Linked DNA regions of Homo sapiens: regions 1, 2, 3, 4, 5 and 6 are each linked to region 7. Evidence: promoter capture Hi-C in 16 types of primary human blood cells and fetal thymus (Javierre and others, 2016). All regions are on one chromosome and are shown on one strand. Each heading gives the region's core, a stretch centred on a gene start or on the middle of the fragment in contact. The rest is flanking DNA. Distances are from core to core; before and after follow the strand shown. Region 1 has its middle 11 kb from the start of ZP2. Region 2 holds the start of LOC105371125 (a long non-coding RNA gene). Region 3 has its middle 24 kb from the start of LDAF1. Region 4 overlaps CRYM (crystallin mu). Region 5 overlaps ZP2 (zona pellucida glycoprotein 2). Region 6 has its middle 33 kb from the start of CRYM. Region 7 holds the start of CDR2 (cerebellar degeneration related protein 2).

Region 1 (2,700 bases), core at 52-2,551, 1.2 Mb before region 7:
TTTGAGCTACTTTTAGCAGTTCTTGTAGTGCTGGCTTGGTAGTGGCAAATTCTCTCAGCATTTGTTTGAAAAAAAACTGTGTTTTTCCTTCATTTATGAAGCATAGTTTCACTGGATACCAAATTCTTGGCTGATAATTATTTTGTTTAAGAAGGCTAAAGACAGGACCCCAATCCCTTCTAGCCTGTAGGGTTTCTGCTGAGAAATCTGCTGTTAATCTGATAGTTTTTCCTTTATAGGTTACCTGATGCTTTTGCCTCACAGCTCTTAAGATTCTTTCCTTCATCTTGAATTTGATCATTATGTGCCTACATGATAATCTTTTTACGGTGAATTTCCTGGGTGTTCTTTGAGCTTCTTGTATTTGGATGTCTAGATCTTTAACAAGGCCAAGGAAGTTTTCCTCAATTATTCCCTCAAATATCTTTTTCAAACTTTTAGATTTCTCTTCTTCCTCAGGAATGCCAATTATTCTTAGGTTTGGTCATTTAACATACTCCCAAACTTCTTGGAGACTTTGTTCATTTTTAAAATCCGTTTTTCTTTGTCTTTGTTGGATTGGGTTAACTCAAAAGCCTTGTCTTCGAGCTCTGCAGTTTTCTTCTACTTGTTTGATTCTTGTTGGAGAATACCTGGATACTCATTTGGTTGTCTTTATCCTAGATGGGTATGTGGGTTTGCCTATGCTGAGGTTGTTTCAAGAACCAAGAGAAGTCAATATTGTAAGAGATTAGTGGTATGTGTATGTGTATGTTTATGCATGCATATAGATACATATATATGTTTTTCTAGAGTAGCTTGCATATAAAGGGGCAGTGATATAGCAAGAAATAAGCTGCTGTTTTTAACTATGGCAGGACTCTGCTTGTTCAGAGAGTGTGTAAGATGCCCACACAGCAATGACACTATGGGATGAAGGGGTGCCCTGCCCCTCCAAACCTGTGGGTGTTTTCTTGTCGGGTGGGATGAGAGACTAAGAAAAGAAAGAGACACAGAGACAAAGTATAGAGAAAGAAAAGTGGGCCCAGGGGATCGTCGCTCAGCATACGGAGGACCATGCCGGCACCAGTCTCTGAGTTCCCTTAGTATTTATTGATCATTATCTCTACCATCTCGGAAAGGGGGATGTGGCAGGACAATAGGGTAATAGTGGGGAGAGGTTCAGCAGGAAAACATGTGAACAAATGTCTCTGTGTCATAAACAAAGTTAGAAAAGGTGCTGTGCCTTGATGTGCACATACAGAAACATATCTGGTGCATTAAAGAGCAGTATTACCGCCAGCATGTCTCACCTCCAGCCTTAAGGCAGTTTTCTCCTATCTCAGTAGATGGAACATACAATCCGGTTTTACACTGAGACATTCTATTGCCCAGGGACGAGCAGGAGACAGGTGCCTTTCTCTTATCTCAACTGCAAAGAGGCCTTCCTCTTTTACTAATCCTTCTCAGCACAGACCCTTTACGGGTGTTGGGCTGGGGGACAGTCAGGTCTTTCCCTTCCCGCGAGGCCATATTTCAGACTATCACATGGGGAGAAAACTTGGACAATACCTGGCTTTCCTAGGCAGAGGTCCCTGCGGCCTTCCGCAGTGTTTTGTGTCCCTGGGTACTTGAGATTAGGGAGTGGTGATGACTTTTAACAAGCATACTGCCTTCAAGCATTTGTTTAACAAAGCACATCCTGCATAGCCCTAAATCCATTAAACCTTGAGTCAACACAGCATGTTTCTGGGAGCACAGGGTTGGGGGTAGGGTTACAGATTAACAGCATCTCAAGGCAGAAGAATTTTTCTTAGTACAGAACAAAATGGAGTCTCTTATGTCTACTTCTTTCTACATAGACACAGTAACAGTCTGATCTCTCTTTTCTCCACAATGGGACCAGGATAAAGTGTTACTAAAACACATAGCAGCTAATTTTGCTCTGCGTGGCCACTTCTGTATCCTTGGCTAACCTGGGAAATTATCCTGCAAGTGTGTGTGTGTTCTTTCTACTGATCAGTAATTCAACTGCAATTGGGCAATATGCAAGTTTGCTTAAGTCTTATAACCCTGTGAGTGCAGGTGTAAATATCCCCATATCCCCAAGAGAACAGCCTTTTTAATGCTTGAGAATTGGCCAGACATGCTGGAAATGGGGACTAGAAGAGCTTTCACACAGGCGCATAATATGTATTTGGTGACTGATTGGCACAGAAGGAAATGAGGGAGGGTTAGGATGTAACTGATGTGAGAGGAAATGATAGGACATTGTCACACTCAAAAGGCCATTCGACATGGTTACTGGAGCAAGGCAAATACTGTACATGAGTGAAGTCGGTTGGGTGCAAGGAAATGGCTTTAGTGTGATGAGAATGGCAAGTGACTAACTATTGCCCTCAGGGTCAGGATTACAGCTCTGGGCAGCTGGGGGTGATGTGGACTGTTGAGTCCAGGCTGCATCTAAAGAAATAACTGCTTTGGCTGGGCACAGCGGCTCACACCTGTAATCCCAGCACTTTGGGAGGCCAAGGTGGGTGGATCCCCTGAGGTTGGGAGTTCGAGACTAACCTGACCAACCCGGAGAAACCTCCTGTCTACTAAAAATACAAAAAAATTAGCCGGGCATGGTGGCGCATGCCTGTAATCCCAGGTACTCTGGAGGCTGAGGCAGGAGAATCACTTGAACCCAGGAGGCGGAGGTTGCAGTGAGCTGAGATC
Region 2 (2,700 bases), core at 65-2,564, 1.1 Mb before region 7:
TCTTCTCTTAGTTTCCTGATTTTAATAATTTGAGGCTTCTTTCTTATTTTGGTCAGTCAATATAAAGGTCTTTGATTTGTGTTGATTCTTTAAAGGGATTGTATATTTTCCCTGGCCTGTTGTTTTTACATTCTCTATTTATCTCTGTTTTAGTCTTTATTATTTCCTGCCTTCCACCGGCTTTGGGTTTGGTTTGCTCTTCTTTTTCCAGTTTTTAAGGTGGAAGACTAGATTATTTATTTGAAATAGTTTTAAATGTAAGAATAAATGTGAAAAAACTAAACTGCTTTTCTTATAAGTTTTGGTATACCATATTTTTGTTTTCATTCATGTCAAAGTATTTTCTAATTTCCCTTATGATTTTTTATCTGACTCATTTGTTGCTTAAGTTTGTATTGTCTAATTTACACATATTTGTGTATTTTCAGATTTCCTTCTGTTACTGATTTCTAATTTTGTTCCATTGCAGTCATAATAAGATGCTTCATATTATTTCAGTTTTTTATAATTTATTAAGACTTGTTTTGTGGCCTAATTAATGGTCTGTCCTGGATAATTTTTTTATGTACACTTGAGAAAAAAATGTGTATTTTGTTATTGTTGGGTAGAGTATTTTATATATACCTTTAGGTCAGGTGGTTTATTTTGTTGTTCATATCTTATATTTGTTTGATCAATGTAGTTGTTCTATAATTATTTAAAGTGGGGTATTGACATCTCCAACTACTATTGTTGAAAGCCCTTAAATCTGTCAGTTTTTGCTTCATATATTTTAGGGCTGTGTTGTTAGGACCATATATGTTTGTTACTGTTGTATCTTCTTCATGAATTAACCCATTTAATAGTATATAATGTCCTTCATCTCTTATAACCGTTTTTATCTTAAAGCCTATTTTGTCTGACATTAGTAGAATCATTCCAGCTCTCTTTTGGTTACCGTTTGCATTGAATATATTTTTCTGTCTTTTAAACTTTTATTTGTGCCTTTAAATTTAAATTGAATCTGTTGTAGGTAGCATATGGTTGGATCATGCTTGTTAAAATCCATTCTGCCAATCTCTATCCTTTAATTGGAGCAGTAATCTATTTATATTTAATGTAATCACTGATAGGGAAAGACATACTTCTACCATTTTGTCATAAGAATGTCATAAGAATTTACATATTAGGTGCAAACTTACCCTCTACCTCCTCACTCAGGTGACACCCTCTCTTCTGTCAAAGTGAGAGTTGAAGCCAGCTGGGCTGCTGGCACAGGTGCCCGGCTTTTATTCCCTTATTTGGCCCTGCCCACATCCTGCTGATTGGCCCATTTTACAGAGCGCTGATTGGCCCATTTACAGAGTGCCGATTGGTCCATTTTACAGAGTACTGATTGCCAGCTGGGCTTCTGGGTGGAGTGGGGACTTGGAGAACTTTTGTGTCTAGCTAAAGGATTGTAAACACACCAATCAGCACTCTGTAAAATTGCACCAATCAGCACTCTGTGTCTAGCTAAAGGATTGTAAATGGACCAATCAGCACTCTGTAAAATGGACCAATCAGCACTCTGTAAAATGGACCAATCAGCACTCTGTAAAATGGACCAATCAGTGTTCTGTAAAATGGACCAATCAGCAGGATGTGGGTGGGGCCAAATAAGGGAATAAAAGCTGGCCACCAGAGCCAGCAGTGGCAATGTCGGATCCCCTTCCATGCTGTGGGAACTTTTTTCTTTTGCTGTTCACAATAAGTCTTGCTGCTGCTCACTGTTTGGGTCCACACTACCTTTGTGAACTGTAACACTAACCACGAAGGTTGTAGGCTTCATTCCTTAAGTCAGTGAGACCACGAACCCACCGGGAGGGACAAACAACCTGGATGTGCCACCTTTAAGAGCTGTAACACTCACTACAAAGGTCTGCAGCTTCTCTCCTGAGGTCAGCAAGACCACAAACCCACTGGAAGGAAGAAACTCGGGACACATCTGAACATCTGAAGGAACAACTCTGGACACACCATCTTTAAGAATTGTAACACTCACCGCAAGGGTCCGTGGCTTCTTTCTTGAAGTCAGCGAGACCAAGAACCCACGGGAGGGAACCAATTCTGGCCACAAAAGCATCTTACAAATATGCTTTTTGCTCAGACTTATAATTTCATCTTTTTTTCCAGTAATTTGAACTCAGTCTTGAAGTCTTACAGTGACAGTTCAGAGCCTTACCTCTTAAACATGTTTCTTATTTACTCATATATATTCATAAACTGTTATACATATTTAATTTAGTATTTAGAGGAATCTCAGCATCAAGTTTGTTTCTCTGAGGATGTATGTCCTTTCAACTGATGATATATTCCTTATCCTCTTTCCACTGTTGAGTCCTAGGCTACATTTCCTATCACATCTTTGCTTTTTCATTGGTTATATAAAATAAACGGTATGAGAAATAATCAGCATTGGTTTCTTGTTCGCATGAGATGACAGGAAGACAGATGATATGGACATCAGCTTTCCCAAAAGGATTTTCCAAAGCTGTAATTATCAACACAAACTATGTTTCAAGAAATCAGGGGTAGTATACTTTATGCTAAAAACGGAGGGTTTGTGAGAATAATGTTACAGCTTTTAATTTTCTCTGTTTAATTTTATCAACTTGGGAGACTTTTGTTATCCTGGGACAGTTCATTTCATATAAAGCATGCTAACATTATCTTTTTCAT
Region 3 (2,700 bases), core at 11-2,510, 1.2 Mb before region 7:
TTCTTCATGTGTTAGGGGTCCAGGCATGGCTTGGCTAGATCTTTTGTAAGCCTGTGATCACAGTGTCATCAGGGCTGTGTTCTCATTTGGGGTCTGACTGGGGAAGGACCACATTCCAAGCTCACATGGTTGTTGGCAGCATCCAGCTGGCAACACGACTTAAGCCCTCCATTCCTTGCTGCATATTCCCCTCCCCATGACAGTTCAGTGTGGTCAATGGCTTCTTCAAAGCCATCAAGGGAGAGCCTCTCAGCAAGATAGACGTTACATTCTTAGGGAACGTAATCATGCATGCACAATCATGAACACTGGATCACTTTATCTGTGTTCTGCTGGTTAGAAACGAGTCCCAGAAACCACCACCCACTCTCATGAGGAGGGGATCACCCAAGGGCAGGTAAACCACAGAGGGGACCATGGGCTCTGCCTTAAGAGTCCTTACTAGGGTCCTTAGTAGTCCACCTTGCTACAACAAGTAAACAAAATATTAGACCAACTCCGCTGAAGATAAGTAAAAGGGTGGTAAGTAATTGGGAGAGCATGCTTTAGCCACAGCAATCAGAGATTTCTTCTATTTGAACCAAAACATGAGTTGTCACCATGCCAAGCACACAGGGAGGGTGTTCCTAGCAGAGGGCACAGTATCCCAAAGGCCCAGAGATGGGAAGAAGCTTAATGTGTTTAAGGGAAAAAAATGATGTCAGCATGGCTGGGCCTCATCATGCAGGACCTCATGGAGTGAGTTTACACCAGGGGTCCCCAACCAGTACCGGTCCTTGGCCTGTTAGGAACCAGGCCATACAGCAGGAGGTGAGCAGCAGGTGAGCAAGCATTGCTGCCTGAGCTTCACCTCCTGTCAGATCAGCAGTGGCATTAGATTCTCATAGGAACATGAACCCTCATGTGAACTGCACATGCAAGGGATCTAGGTTGCATGATCCTTATGAGAATCTAATGCCTGATGATCTGTCACTGTCTCCCGTCACCCCCAGTTGGGATTGTCTAGTTGTAGGAAAACAAGCTCAGGGCTCCCACTGATTCTACATTATGGTAAGTTGTGTAATTATTTCATTATGTATTACAATGTAATCATAATAGAAATAAGCTGCACGATAAATGGAATGCACTTGAATCATCCTGAAACCACCCCCCTACCCACGCCTCATCCATGGAAAAATTGTCTTCCACAAAACTTGTCCCTGGTGCCAAAAAGGTTGAGGACCACTGGTTTATGCCAAAGAGCAAAGGAAAGACAATGAAGAATCTTACATGGGAGAGTGACGTGATCAGACTTGGGTTTTTAAAGATCACTCCATGGCCAATGGATTTAAAGCAGGAAGGCTAGTTGGGAGGTCTATGGAGGCCCAAGAGCAGAGAGGATAATTGTGACTTAAAACTTACACTAGGCTGAGCACAGTGGCTCATGCCTGTAATCCCAGCACTTTGGGCGGCCAAGGATCACTTGGGGTCAGGAGTTCAAGACCAGCCTGGCCAACATGGTGAAACCCCGTCTCTACTAAAAATACAAAAATTAGCTGGGTGTGATGGCGGGCACCTGTAATTCCAGCTACTCAGGAGGCTGAAGCAGGCAAATCACTTGAACCTGGGAGGTGGAGATTGCAGTGATCTGAGATCGCACCACTGTACTCCAGCCTAGGCGACAGAGCGAGACTCTCTCTCAAAAAAAAAAAAAAAAAAAAAAAATTAGGGCAAATGTAATGGAGACCTTCCTCATTTTGAGGGCCAGCAGCACTTGGTGATGATGGAGAAGGAAAGGGGGACACAAGGTGGCACCTAGGTTTTTAGCTTGAGCCAGTAGTGGATAGTGACACTATTGTAGGAGTGAAGGACAAGCTTCCTCTCTACCCTCTGAAGGATCCCTGAAATGAACTGGCAATAGACAGATGAACAGGAGAAAAGGCATATTCAAATTTATTAACATGCACATGAACACAGGAGTTCCAAAAATATGAGACTCAAAGAAAGGCCAAATGATTGAAACTTACATAGAGGGAGATGGGGGAAATGTAGGCAACTTGAAGGATTGTAAATGATTTTTAGGGGAATTGAATGGACCCAAAGAGCAAACCACAATGAGATACCATCTGAAACCAGTCAGAATGGCTATTACTAAAAAGTCAAAAAATAACAGATGCTGGCGAGTTTGTGGAGAAAAGGGAATGCTTACACATTGCTGGTGGGAAAGTAAATTAGTTCAGTCACTGTGGAAAGCACTATCACAATAGCAAAAATGGAATCAAAAAATGTCCGTCAATGGTGGATAAAGAAAATGTGGTGCCATATACATCACAGAATACTACACAGTTATAAAAACGAATGAGATTGTGTCCTTTGCAGCAACATGGATACAGCTAGAAGCCATTATCCTAAGTGAACTAATGCAGGAACAGAAAACCAAACACCATATGTTCTCACATATAAGTGGGAGCTAAACATTGGGTACATATGGAAATAAAGATGGGACCAACAGACATTGGGGCCTACATGGAGGTGGAGGGTGGGAGGAGAGTGAAGATAAAAAAAACTATTGGGTACTATGCTTATTACCTGAATGATAATCTGTACACCAAACCCCTGTGACATGCAATTTACCCATGTAACAAACCTCCACATGTACTCCTGGAACTAAAATGAAAGTTAAAAAAAAAAAGCAGACAATAGTTTGTAAATTATTTTCTT
Region 4 (2,824 bases), core at 22-2,521, 1.1 Mb before region 7:
ACAGCTAATGTATGCCAATGCTTTGCCCCCATGATCTCATTTAGTCTAGACATTGACCCTACGAGTTGGGGACTCCTACTATCTTCTTCTTACAGATGAAGAGACTGAGGTTGCCCTGGTAACAGAAAGGTGAACTTGCTCTGGGTCTTACAACTACTTTTTAAAATTATTTATTTATTTCTTTTTCTTTCTTTCTTTCTTTTCTTTTTTTTTGAGATGGAGTCTCGCTCTGTCGCCTAGGCTGGAGTGCAGTGGCACGATCTTGGCTCATTGCAACCTCTGCCTCCTGGGTTCCAGTGATTATCCTACCTCAGCCCCCCGTGGAGCTGGGATTATAGGTGTGCGCCACAACACCCAGCTAATTTTTGTATTTTCGATAGAGATGGGGTTTCACCATGTTGGCCAGGCTGGTCTCAAACTCCTGACCTCAGGTGATCTGTGCACCTCGGCCTCCCAAAGTACTGGGATTACAGACGTGAGCCACCGCACCTAGCCAGGTCTTACAACTATTGAAGGGCACAGTGTGGCTCTAAAGTCACGTCTTCCATACTCCAAAGCCCATGTCCTTTCTTCATATCTCAGGTACATGCTCAGCCATACCCACTTCTCAGAGCTCTGAGCTGCTTCTAAGAGCTGCCTGGATTCTGTGAGCCCTTCCTTCCCAGGGTTCTAGCTATATTCACTGGGCCAACTCTGTTGATCTTTTCACTGCCTCTGTCTTCCTCTAAAGACGAATGTAGAATTAGCATTTGTGGCATCTCCTGAGGGTGTCTGTGTTTGAGAGCAGGATTCTGTGATCAACTCACGTCCAGTGCCACCTCTCCAATGAAGCCTTTCTGACCTCCTTGATAGAATGCACCAGGCCATAGCACTTATTTGTTTGTAGATTTTCTTCTACAGGTCTTTAAGCCCCATGAGGACAGAGGTAGTCTTATTTGCACAGAACTGGTACATACCTACTATGACCTACAAGAGGTAGCACTGGGCTTCTCAACCTCGGTACTACTAACATTTGGGCTGGACAATTCTTTATTGGGGAGGGGCACCAACCTGTGTATTATAGGATGTGCAACAGTATCTCTGGTTTCTATCCATTAGATGTTAGTAGCATTTTCCACCCCTTCAAGTTGTGGGAACTAAAAACGTCTGCACACTCCTAAATGTCTCTGGAGCAGGTGGCAAACTCATGCTCAGTGGAGAACCACTGGCATAGAGGAAAGACATCACTTGGCCCTCGACACCATATGTATTAAATAAAACCCTCTTCTGCCTTTTCTCTATTCCATTTAGTAAACTTTGAGTTCCCTGTGGTCTGTTCTTTTATAAAATGCTACTCACTGGAATTTTGGAGTATAATATTTAAAAAGTGAAAAGTCTTCTTAACTACTAATTACTAGCAAAACAGCATCTCTGAAATATTAGGAATTAATTTTATCTCCTGCAGCTACCGAAGGAGAGATACCATTCTGTGCCATAAAATATAGTTTAACGTCTCTGATTTGAAAAGGTTTCAAAATGATAATATCCACAAGACTAGAAATCTTATGTTGCTGTCTGATAAGGATAATTAGATTTTTTTCCTTAATTGTTACCATTTTCTTCTGTTCTCAGTTAATATGAATCTATTCTTGAAAGTACAGGTGAGCTTCAGAAATTGTTACAGTATCCCATAAAAATAACCTTCAACTTCCTAAACTAAATGTGTAATTCTAATTGGTTGTCTTACTTGATAATTTGTTGCCCTGGTAATAGTGTGATAATTGATATTTTTAAAATTTTTTTTTTTTTCCGAGACAGTCTCGCTTTGTCGCCCAGGCTGGAATGCAGCGGTGTGATCTCAGCTCACTGCAACCTCTGCTTCCTGGGTTCAAGCGATTCTCATGCCTCAGCCTCCCGAGTAGCTGGGATTACAGGTATGTGCCACCATACTTGGCTAATTTTTTTTTTTTTTTTTGGTAAAGATGGGGTTTCGCCATGTTGGCCAGGCTGGTCTCGAACTCCTGACCTCAAGTGATCCACCTGCCTCGGCCTCCAAAAGTGCTGGGATTACAGGTGTAAGCCACTGCACCCAGCCGATTTTTAATCATATGTTTATAAGATTTATTAAACAGCATTAGTGGCACTTCAATCTTTTCTCCTAAGCATGCAGGTTATTAAGTACACGTATATGAATCTGCTGGGTTTCTCATTTAAAGAGTCTGAAAGTCTGTTTCATTTGCATTTGCCAAGGCCTTGCATGGTCTGGCCCTCCTATCTCTAAAGCTGTCTCTCATACCACCATGCCATGTTCCCCTGCACTTCCTGTCTTCCAGCCATACTGGCTTCCTTGCAGCTTCCCAAGCTCATGTACTTCCTTCAACCACAGGGCCTTTGCATGAATTAATTCCTTGCCATACGATGCTAGGCTGCTTTGTCCCCTCTCCCCCTCACAAGTAACTGATTATCCTTCAATCTCAGCTCAAATATCCCCTACAGAGACACAGCCACAGGCTAGATCAAGACATACTGCTTTACACTCTTACAGCACTTGTCAGCGTTGTAGTTTCATATTTATTGGTGTGAATTTTTTTTTTTTTTTTGGAGACTGAGTCTCACTCGTTGTCCAGGCTGGAGTGCAGTGGTGTGATCTTGGCTCACTGTAACCTCCGCCTCCAGGATTCAAGCAATTCCCTTGCCTCAGCCTCCCAAGTAGCTGGGATTACAGGCACCTGCCACCATGCCCAGCTAATTTTTTTTTTTTTTTTTTTTTTTTTTTTTTTAGTACAGATGGGGTTTTTCCATGTTGGTCAGGCTGGTCTTGAACTCCTGACCTCAGGTAATCTGC
Region 5 (2,700 bases), core at 201-2,700, 1.2 Mb before region 7:
GTCCTGGGAGGCTGACTGTCATTTTCTCTGCTTCAGTGGCCCCTGTGGCTGGAGACAGATGATCAAGTTTGTGTTTGGCCTCTGGAATAGTGGTTCGAGAGGTGTGTCAATGGAATGCTTAGAAGTAGAAGCTCTCTGGAGTATTTTGTTCATGTGGTTTGTCTTGCCTTTGCAGGCGAGGTTATGCCCTTTACTGTAGAAGTGGGATGGATTCTTGGGGTTGGGTGTGGTGGCTCATGCCTATAATCCCAGCACTTTTGGGAGGCCGAGGTAGGTGGATCACCTGAGGTCAGGAGATTGAGACCAGCCTGGCCTGGCCAACATGGTGAAACCCTGTCTCTACTAAAGATATAAAAGTTAGCTGGGTATGTTGGGGGGGTTCCTATAATCCCAGCTACTTGGGAGGCTCAGGCAGGAGAATCATTTCCCTTGAACCCTGGAGGTGGAATGAGCCAAGATCACACCATCTTACTCCAGCCTGGGCAACAAGAGCAAAACTGTCTCAAAAAAAAAAAAAAAAAAAAAAAAAAGGATAGATTCTTAAAGAACTCATCGTCTATAGAACTAGACAAGAAACTGTTCATCTTAGACCTGTCACATGAGTAAGGTAGACTGGACCAAGTTTTGACTGGGCCAACAAGAGCTCTGGGCAGTAAATAAAGTATGAGTTATACCAGTCCTTAAGATCTTCTATTCTAAAAAGTTGATACTTGCTTTGAATTAGACTCACAGAAACAGGAATTTGAAGTTTTTACCTCGCCTGTGCCTAGAGGACACAGGGCAGGTCACAGAACACAGTGGGGAGTCAGGGGAGAGTCGATTACAGATTAAGGCACTGCAGTGGAAGTAGACCTGGAGACAGAAGAGAGTTACATGGAATCGATGCACTAACATTTAACCTGTCCCTGGTGACTTCTGAATCACTTACCAGGCTAGAGAGCACGTGGGCTTCTGATACAAAGGCAAAAGCCTTCATGTCAAACCTCTGATAGTGATCAGGATGGGTCACAGAGGAGCCGACTGGATGGAAGGTGGTCTGGTAGTTGTCCAGGTCATATGCACAGCTAGGAGGTATGCACCAGGGAGGGATGTCAGTCATATGCATCTTGGAGTCAAATTCAATGTCTGCCCAGATTTAGTCATACGTAATATCTTCAGAACTATTGCCATATTTACCTTCTACCAGCACCTTTGTTTTACTCAGCATTTCTTACCTGACCTATAATACCTATGAAATCATAAGTTGTATAGACTAGTTATATTTTAACTATTTTAGCAGTACCTGTTTGCCAACTACATGAGAAGTACAAATTATATCATTTCAGAAGACACTGGTTTCTTGGCCAGGTGCAGTAGCTCACACCTGTAATCCCAGAACTGTGGGAGGCTGAGGTGGGCAGATCACCTGAGGTCAGGAGTCTAAGACCAGCCTGGCCAACATGGTGAAACCCCGTTTCTACTAAAGATATAAAAATTAGCTGGGCATGGTGGCAGGCACCTGTAGTCCCAGCTACTTGGGAGGCTAAGGCAGGTGAATCGCTTGAATCTGGGAGGCGGAGGTTGCAGTGAGCTGAGATTGTGCCATTGCACTCCAGCCTGGGGGACAAGAGTGAGACCTCGTCTCAAAAACAAAACAGAAGGCTTAGTAACTGAGCTACCACAGCTTCAAGAAAGCAAAGGTGCAGTTTTAGCCAAGTACACACTATTCCATAAGAATGGGTGAGATCCAGTTGTAGGACAGGACACGGCAGGAGAGCTGTAAGGTTGAACACCTATGTGTACAAGTGTGTGGCTGCAACCTCAGAGCATCAGTGCTCAGATTCTAGAGTCAGATGGATATTCTAATACAAGCTCCATTGTTTAAGTATTGTTTTGGGCTGGTTATTTAGGCAGCAAGCTGGGGTTTCTTCATGAAAGACGAAGACTAGTACAACTAGTGGATGTGGAATACATAGCACTGTGCCTGGCATATGGTAGGTGTTCAGATGGATAGAGGCTAGAGACCAGTCTTTCCAGATGATCAACACCATAGTAGAGTCAGACTTTCTGGGGCTTTGGAACTCATTCCTTAAGATTCAAGAGGTGATTGGAAGGCAGCATGTGGCCAAGTGTGGTGGTTCACACCTGTAATCCCAGTACTTTGGGAGGCCAAGGTAGGTGGATCACCTGAAGTCAGGAGTTCGAGACCAGCCTGGCCAACATGGCAAAACCCTGTCTCTACTAAGATAGCAAAAATTAGCTGGGCTTGGTGGTGTGCCCCTGTAATCTCAGCTACCCAGGAGGCTGAGGTAGGAGAATTGCTTGAACCCAGGAGGCAGGGGCTACAGTGAGCTAAGATCATGCCGCAGCACCCCAACCTGGGTGACAGAATGAGACCCCATCTCAAAACAAAAAAAAAAAAAACAGAAGGCAGAAGAGTCCCAATTAGAAAACAAGGACTAAATCTGGATCTCACATGACTGAATGCTGCTCTAAAGCCCAAGAGGGTTTATTCCCATTACTGGCAAGTTTTGATGGATTAGCTGGGTAACCTGATAGTACAGGGAGTACCTACCCATCCACGACAACGTTCCACTGGGGGAAAGAGTCTGGATCCATGGTGGACGTCGCCCAGCAGTCATCTAAGACCAGCTTGATGTTGGGGTCATCCCTGTTTAGGACTCTCACTTCCATGTAAATTGGTTGGCGGAGGAATCTCAC
Region 6 (2,730 bases), core at 208-2,707, 1.1 Mb before region 7:
TCTAGCAGTGTTTTCACTGACATTTTAGGGTTTTCATGTTATCTGCAAACAGGAACCATTTGGCTTCTTCTTTTCCAATTTGGATGGCTTCTCTTTCTTTTTTTGCCTGATTGCTCTGGCTAGGTCTTCCATTACTATATTGAATAGGAGTCGTAAGAGTGGACATCTTTGTACCTTTCCTGAGATACTTTTGGAAAAAGCTTTCTATTTTTTACTCTTGTGTATGATATTAATGGTGAGCTTGTCATATATAGTCTTTATTGTGTTGAGTTACATTCCTTCAGTGCCTAATATGGTTAGAGTTTTTATCATGAAAGGATATTGAATTTTGTCAAATGCTTCTTCTGCATCTGTTGAGATAATATATGGTCTTTGTCCTTTATTCTGTTAATGTGGTGTATTAATATTTACTTGCATATGTTGAACCATCCTTGGATCTCAAAGATAAGTCTCACTTTATTGTGGTGAGTGAATGATCCTTTTAATATGCTGTTGAATTCAGTTTGCTAGTATTTTGTTGAGGATTTTTGCATCTATGTTCATCAGGGATATTAGCCTGTAATTTTTTTTTTTTTTTTGAGATGGAGTCTCACTCTGTTGCCCAGGCTGGAGCGCAGTGGCATGATATCAGCTTACTGCAACCTCTGCCGCCTCCCACGTTCAAACAATTCTCTTGCCTCAGCCTCCCGAGTAGCTGGGATCACAGGCATGTGCTACCATGCTCAGCTAATTTTTGTATTTTTAGTAGAGATGGGGTTTCACCACGTTGGCCAGGCTGGTCTCAGACTCCTGCCCTGCTCATCTCGGCCTCCCAAAGTGCTGGGATTACAGTCATGAGCCACCGTGCCTGGCCAGCCTGTAATTTTCTTGTATGTCCTTGTCTGGCTTTGGTGTCACGATAGTGCTGGCTTCATAAGATGTGTTTGGAAATATTTTTTCTTCAACTTTTTGGAGTTTGATAAGGATTGGTCCTATTTCTTATTTAAATGTTTTGTAGAATTCAGCCCAGAAGCCATCTGATTCTAGGCTTTTCTTTAATGGGAGACTTTTTATTACTGATTCAATCTTTTTTTTTAATCAGTCTATTTGTTATCAGTCTGTTGTCAGTCTATTTTATCAGTCTGTTATCAGTCTGTTCAGATTTTCTTTTTCTTTGTGATTAATACTTGGTAGGATTAATACAGGTAGGAATTTTTTCATTTCTTCTAGGTTATCTAATTTGTTGACATAATTGTCATCATAGTCTCTAATGATAATTTGTATGTCTGTAGTATCCATTATAATGTTTCCTTTTTTATTTCTGATTTTACTTGAATCTCCTCTCCTTTTTTATTAGTTATTCTAGCTAAAAGTTTGTCTGTTTTATCTTTTTCACAAGTTTTGTTGATTTTTTTTCTATTGTTTCTTTAGTCTCTATTTCATTTATTTCTGCTCTGATCTTTATTTTATCCTTCCTTCTGTGAACTTTGTGCTTAGTTTGTCCTTGTTTTCCTAGTTCCTGGTTTTCTAGTTTCCAATTGTAGTTCCTATACCTAGTTTCTAGTTATAATGTTAGGGTGTTTGAGATCTTTCTTCTTTTTTGATGTAGATGTTTATTGCTATAAACTTCACTCTTAGAACCATTTTTGCTGTATACTATATATCTTATATATTTTTGTATGTTGTGTTTCCGTCTTCATTTGCCTCAAGATATTTTTAAATGATCCCTTTAATTTCTACATTGACCCATTGGTTGTTTGGGAGAATGTTGTTTAATTACCATATGCGTCTGCATTTTCTGAAATTCTGTCTATTTTTGATTGTTAGTATAATACCATTGTGGCCGGAAAAGGTATTTGAAATGGATTTCAGGCTTCATAAATTTATTAAGATTTATCTTGTGGCCTAACATATGAACTCTCCTGGAGAACGTTCTGTGTGTGCTTGAGAAGAATGTGTACAATTGACCCCCCCATATCTGTGTGTTCTACATCCACAGATTCAACTCTGGGCCAAAAATAGTAAAAAAATAATAATATGATAATAATGCAAATAAAAAGCAATACAGTGTAACAAATATTTATATAGATTTTATATTAGGTACTATGAGTATCTAGAGAAAATCTGAGGCATAAGGAGTATGTGTGTAGATTATATGCAAATACTACACCATTTTATATAAGACATTGAGCATCCATGGATTTTGCTATCCTCAGGGGTCTAGAACTAGGCATTAGCATTGTGCCTAGTTGGGGCTTACCTGTAGCCTGTGTCCACTGGTGCCAGCCTGGAGGCTGGGTGTATGGTTGCTAGTCCAGAAGCTAGGTCTGTGAAGAACTGAGTCCTGGAGCCATGGTAGTGTCCCCAGAATTGGTGGGTTCTTGGTCTCACTGACTTCAAGAATGAACCCACGGACCCTCGCGGTGAGTGTTACAGCTCTTAAGGTGGCGCGTCTGGAGTCTGTCCTTTCTGATGTTCAGATGTGTTCGGAGTTTCTTCCTTCTGGTGGGTTCGTGGTCTCGCTGGCTCAGGAGTGAAGCTGCAGACCTTCGCAGTGAGTGTTACAGCTCTTAAGGCAGCGCGTCTGGAGTTGTTCGTTCCTCCCGGTGGGTTCGTGGTCTCGCTGGGCTCAGGAGTGAACCTGCAGATCTTCGCGGTGAGTGTTACGGCTCATAAAAGCAGCGTGGACCCAACGAGTGAGCAGTAGCAAGATTTATTGCAAAGAGCGAAAGAACAAAGCTTTCACAGTGT
Region 7 (2,842 bases), core at 231-2,730:
TGTTATGGGCCTATCAGTGTTAGGCACATAAAAAGTGTTCCCCAACTGCTAGCTCCTGCTATTAGTATAAGAAAAACAGGGGCCCCACTGGCCCCAAAGAGTGGGCTACTCTACGATTGTTCTCTGGAGACACCATCGGCAGGCCTGTTTCTAAGTGAAAGCTGGCGTGCAAACTGAAGAAAAGTGGCAGAGATAGATGCGCTCTTTCTTCTGTCGTTTCAATTGGCATCTGGTGAACTATGCCTAACAGCTTAACGCCCAACTGAAAAAAACTGTAAACTAGGATGGTAAGGAAGAGATGGGGTTTGAGCAGTGACTACAACTCTTCTTCTGAGTGTGTGGGTTCAAAAAACACTCCCTCCCACACTTAGCTTTAGGCAAGCCACTTTACCGTTTTAATCTCCGCTTTCCTCATATGGAAAATGGGATAACAAAAGTGTGTAATTGGATTGTTTGTACCTCAATGGATAAATGCTGGGATGGACGCCCCGTTCTCCATCACGTGCTTATTTCACACTGCGTGCCTGTATCCAAACATCTCATGTACCCCACAAATATATACACCTACCATGTACCCTCAAACATTAATTTTTAAAAAGTTACTGTCTCCTGGAGTTACGGTGCGGAGCGCACAGCTCCCGCTACGCCGCAAAACAACTACCACCTGCAGCAGCCGGCCCTCCACGCTGGCCATGAAAGGCGCTGGGCTAGACAGCCTGCGACGGGGCGGCTTCTCGGGCTATGCCACTTACTGCGGGACACACTGGCTCACCCGGGTCTGCCTCGGAGGAATGCAGTGAGGATTAAACTAGCTAATCCACGGAAAGCGCTTAAAACGGTGCCTGGCTCGTCCCTGGCCCCCACGCGCCTCGGGGCTGATATTCAACTGCGCATTAGCAAGGCCGTGGGCCCCGTGCCGAGGCTTCCTGCGGGCGGGATCCGCGGGCACGGCCGGCCCAGCCGCCAGGTGAGCCTGAGCCCTTCCCGGCACCTGCATCCTCCGCCGCCACAAAAAGCAACTTTTTAACAGTTTCGCAGCGGGGGCCTCCCGGGCCAGGCCGCCGCCCGCCCGCGGGGCGCCCCCGCCCTCACCTTGCTGGAGGTCCTGGTGGTCGTACCACGGCTCGTCCTCCTTCATCTCAAACTCCTCTACCAGGTTTTCCGCCAGCATCTCGGCTGGGTCTTCTAGGGGCAGCGGCCCCCGCCGCCGTCCCGCCTCAGCCGCTGCCCCGGGCTCTTCCCCGGCCCCTCCGCCCTCAGCCAGAGCCGCCCTCGGGCGGGACGCGCCGCCGCCCAGACTCCGCTGCGCCGCCTCAGCCCCGTTCCCGCCGGCGGCCGCCGACCGGCCGGCTGCCTCGACTCGCCTCGCGCCTACCGACGGCCCCAACGGCCGGGCATTACGGTGCGAACGCCTGGAGCCGGAGTCTCACGCAGCCGCCAGTCTTCACGCCGCCGCCGGGCCCAACGTGGCACTTTGGCAGAACCCTCCCCGGCCGGGGATGCGATTCAAACCCCCGGCGGCGCCTCAACCAATCGCGAGCGGGCTGCTGGCCGAGCGGCAGGGACTTCGTCCAATCGCCTCTCTCCAAAGACCGGCGGCTCGCCCGGTATCGAGGGCAAGCAGCCAATGGTGGGTCCGGAATAAACAAAGAAGGCGGGGAAAGAGTGAAGGGGTGCGGCCGAAAGCCCGTCCCCTGATCTGCGCTGTGAGGCTCCTAGGAGGGCGTTCTGGGTTTCGGGCTGGGGAGCTGGCAGAGGCGCGTCTTACCCCTGTGGTGGGTGTCCCGAGGCCGGCGCGTCTGTGGACAGGCAACGCAGGCCGGAGGGCCTAGGACTCCGGCCTCTGAGAGGCGGGCGGTTGTCCAGGGGAGTCCTTCGTGCCGGCGGGAAGCGCAAGGGTGCCGGAAGCCTGAGGTCCGCCGCCCGGCCACCCCTTCTCGCATCTTGACTCTGAGATTTGCTCCGGGTCCGGCGGGGAGACTCGAGGTCGATCGGGAGTTTGGGTTGAGAAAACGCCCACTGAGCGGTAGCTCTTGTCTCCTTGACATCTGAGCCCTGGGAATTAAACTCACGCTACATAAAACGGTGGGCACCAGACCCCCTTGAGAATCTGGGGCGGTGAGGGATGCCCGAAGCTGTCCACTTGGAGGGCGAAAATTGTAAGCAGTGTTGCAACGATTTTTAAAAGGTACCCCTAGACCACAAGTTAAGCATCTGGGGACGTGACATTGCACCTGGAGGGGACAGGCTGCAGCTCCAGCACTTAGTAGCCAGCGAGGCAGAGCACGCTGTCCTCCACCGACATAACCCAGCAAATACTGCTCCTAGGTAAAGCTTTAAGCACCATCTTGCAGACAAAGCACGGAAACTCTTAAGCAGGATGACAGACCTGAAGGTCAATGTTCTCAACCTTGACGTAAAGGTAAAGGTGCAGCTGATGGAAGACAACAGGGCCAATATCTAACTAACTTTGAGCAACGAAACAAAAAAAAATCGAGGTTTAAGTATACAATTGAAAGATTATCTCTAGAACATGAGGTAATAAACTGTTAGAAATTCAGAGAGAGGGAAGAGGTGGAGAGGAGTGTTAAATCCTGATCTATTTTAGAAGTGAGTCGACAGATAATACCTTACATTGATAATCCAATGAATAGTTTCCACAAATATGGAGAGAGCTGCCAGAACTAAAAATGGGAAGCAATTAAGAGTTTTCCGAGGCTGGACACGGTGGCTCACGCCTGTAATCCCAGCATTTTGGGAGGCCGAGGCGGGCGGATCACCTGAGGTCGAGAGTTCGAGGCCAGCCTGACCAACATGGAGAAACCCCATCTCTACTAAAAAT

What was found. Contacts are between HindIII fragments. The CHiCAGO score rates a contact against its expected background, and 5 or more counts as called.
Region 1: a contact is called between a fragment that was not itself captured here and the fragment with the promoter of CDR2 in region 7, in 1 of 17 cell types (erythroblasts). The highest score is 5.3, in erythroblasts.
Region 2: a fragment that was not itself captured here is called in contact with the fragment with the promoter of CDR2 in region 7 in 2 of 17 cell types (erythroblasts and fetal thymus); the score reaches 10.5 in erythroblasts.
Region 3: a fragment that was not itself captured here is called in contact with the fragment with the promoter of CDR2 in region 7 in 2 of 17 cell types (erythroblasts and M0 macrophages); the score reaches 9.7 in erythroblasts.
Region 4: a contact is called between a fragment that was not itself captured here and the fragment with the promoter of CDR2 in region 7, in 1 of 17 cell types (erythroblasts). The highest score is 10.2, in erythroblasts.
Region 5: a fragment that was not itself captured here is called in contact with the fragment with the promoter of CDR2 in region 7 in 1 of 17 cell types (erythroblasts); the score reaches 5.4 in erythroblasts.
Region 6: a fragment that was not itself captured here is called in contact with the fragment with the promoter of CDR2 in region 7 in 1 of 17 cell types (erythroblasts); the score reaches 7.6 in erythroblasts.

Annotation. Positions count from the first base shown.
Region 1 is chr16:21,220,874-21,223,573 of GRCh38, forward strand. No RefSeq gene overlaps it. Among named protein-coding and RNA genes, the nearest start is that of ZP2, 11 kb to the left of the region's middle. RefSeq lists enhancers at 1,286-1,810, 1,811-2,336. The HindIII fragment of the contact is 4,138 bases long and covers 1-2,700 here.
Region 2 is chr16:21,288,473-21,291,172 of GRCh38, forward strand. It overlaps LOC105371125 (a long non-coding RNA gene), which reads left to right and starts at 1,998. Exons shown (of 3, transcript XR_950905.3): 1 at 1,998-2,030. It also overlaps a transcript of CRYM not described here. The HindIII fragment of the contact is 3,512 bases long and covers 1-2,700 here.
Region 3 is chr16:21,181,445-21,184,144 of GRCh38, forward strand. No RefSeq gene overlaps it. Among named protein-coding and RNA genes, the nearest start is that of LDAF1, 24 kb to the left of the region's middle. The HindIII fragment of the contact is 1,183 bases long and covers 670-1,852 here.
Region 4 is chr16:21,270,089-21,272,912 of GRCh38, forward strand. All of the region lies in intron 3 of CRYM (crystallin mu), which reads right to left. Among named protein-coding and RNA genes, the nearest start is that of CRYM, 6.8 kb to the right of the region's middle. The HindIII fragment of the contact is 3,636 bases long and covers 1-2,824 here.
Region 5 is chr16:21,198,815-21,201,514 of GRCh38, forward strand. ZP2 (zona pellucida glycoprotein 2) reads right to left here. Exons shown (of 19, transcript NM_001376232.1): 14 at 2,555-2,700; 15 at 929-1,064; 16 at 756-852; 17 at 1-48. Among named protein-coding and RNA genes, the nearest start is that of ZP2, 11 kb to the right of the region's middle. The HindIII fragment of the contact is 6,462 bases long and covers 1-2,700 here.
Region 6 is chr16:21,309,509-21,312,238 of GRCh38, forward strand. It overlaps the pseudogene ABCA15P. Among named protein-coding and RNA genes, the nearest start is that of CRYM, 33 kb to the left of the region's middle. The HindIII fragment of the contact is 2,518 bases long and covers 199-2,716 here.
Region 7 is chr16:22,373,139-22,375,980 of GRCh38, forward strand. CDR2 (cerebellar degeneration related protein 2) reads right to left here and starts at 1,481. Exons shown (of 5, transcript NM_001802.2): 1 at 1,093-1,481. The coding sequence starts at 1,171. CDR2-DT (CDR2 divergent transcript) reads left to right here and starts at 1,749. Exons shown (of 3, transcript NR_148970.1): 1 at 1,749-2,085; 2 at 2,189-2,422. RefSeq lists a silencer at 1,014-1,243 and enhancers at 1,784-1,863, 2,204-2,253. The HindIII fragment of the contact is 4,746 bases long and covers 1-2,332 here.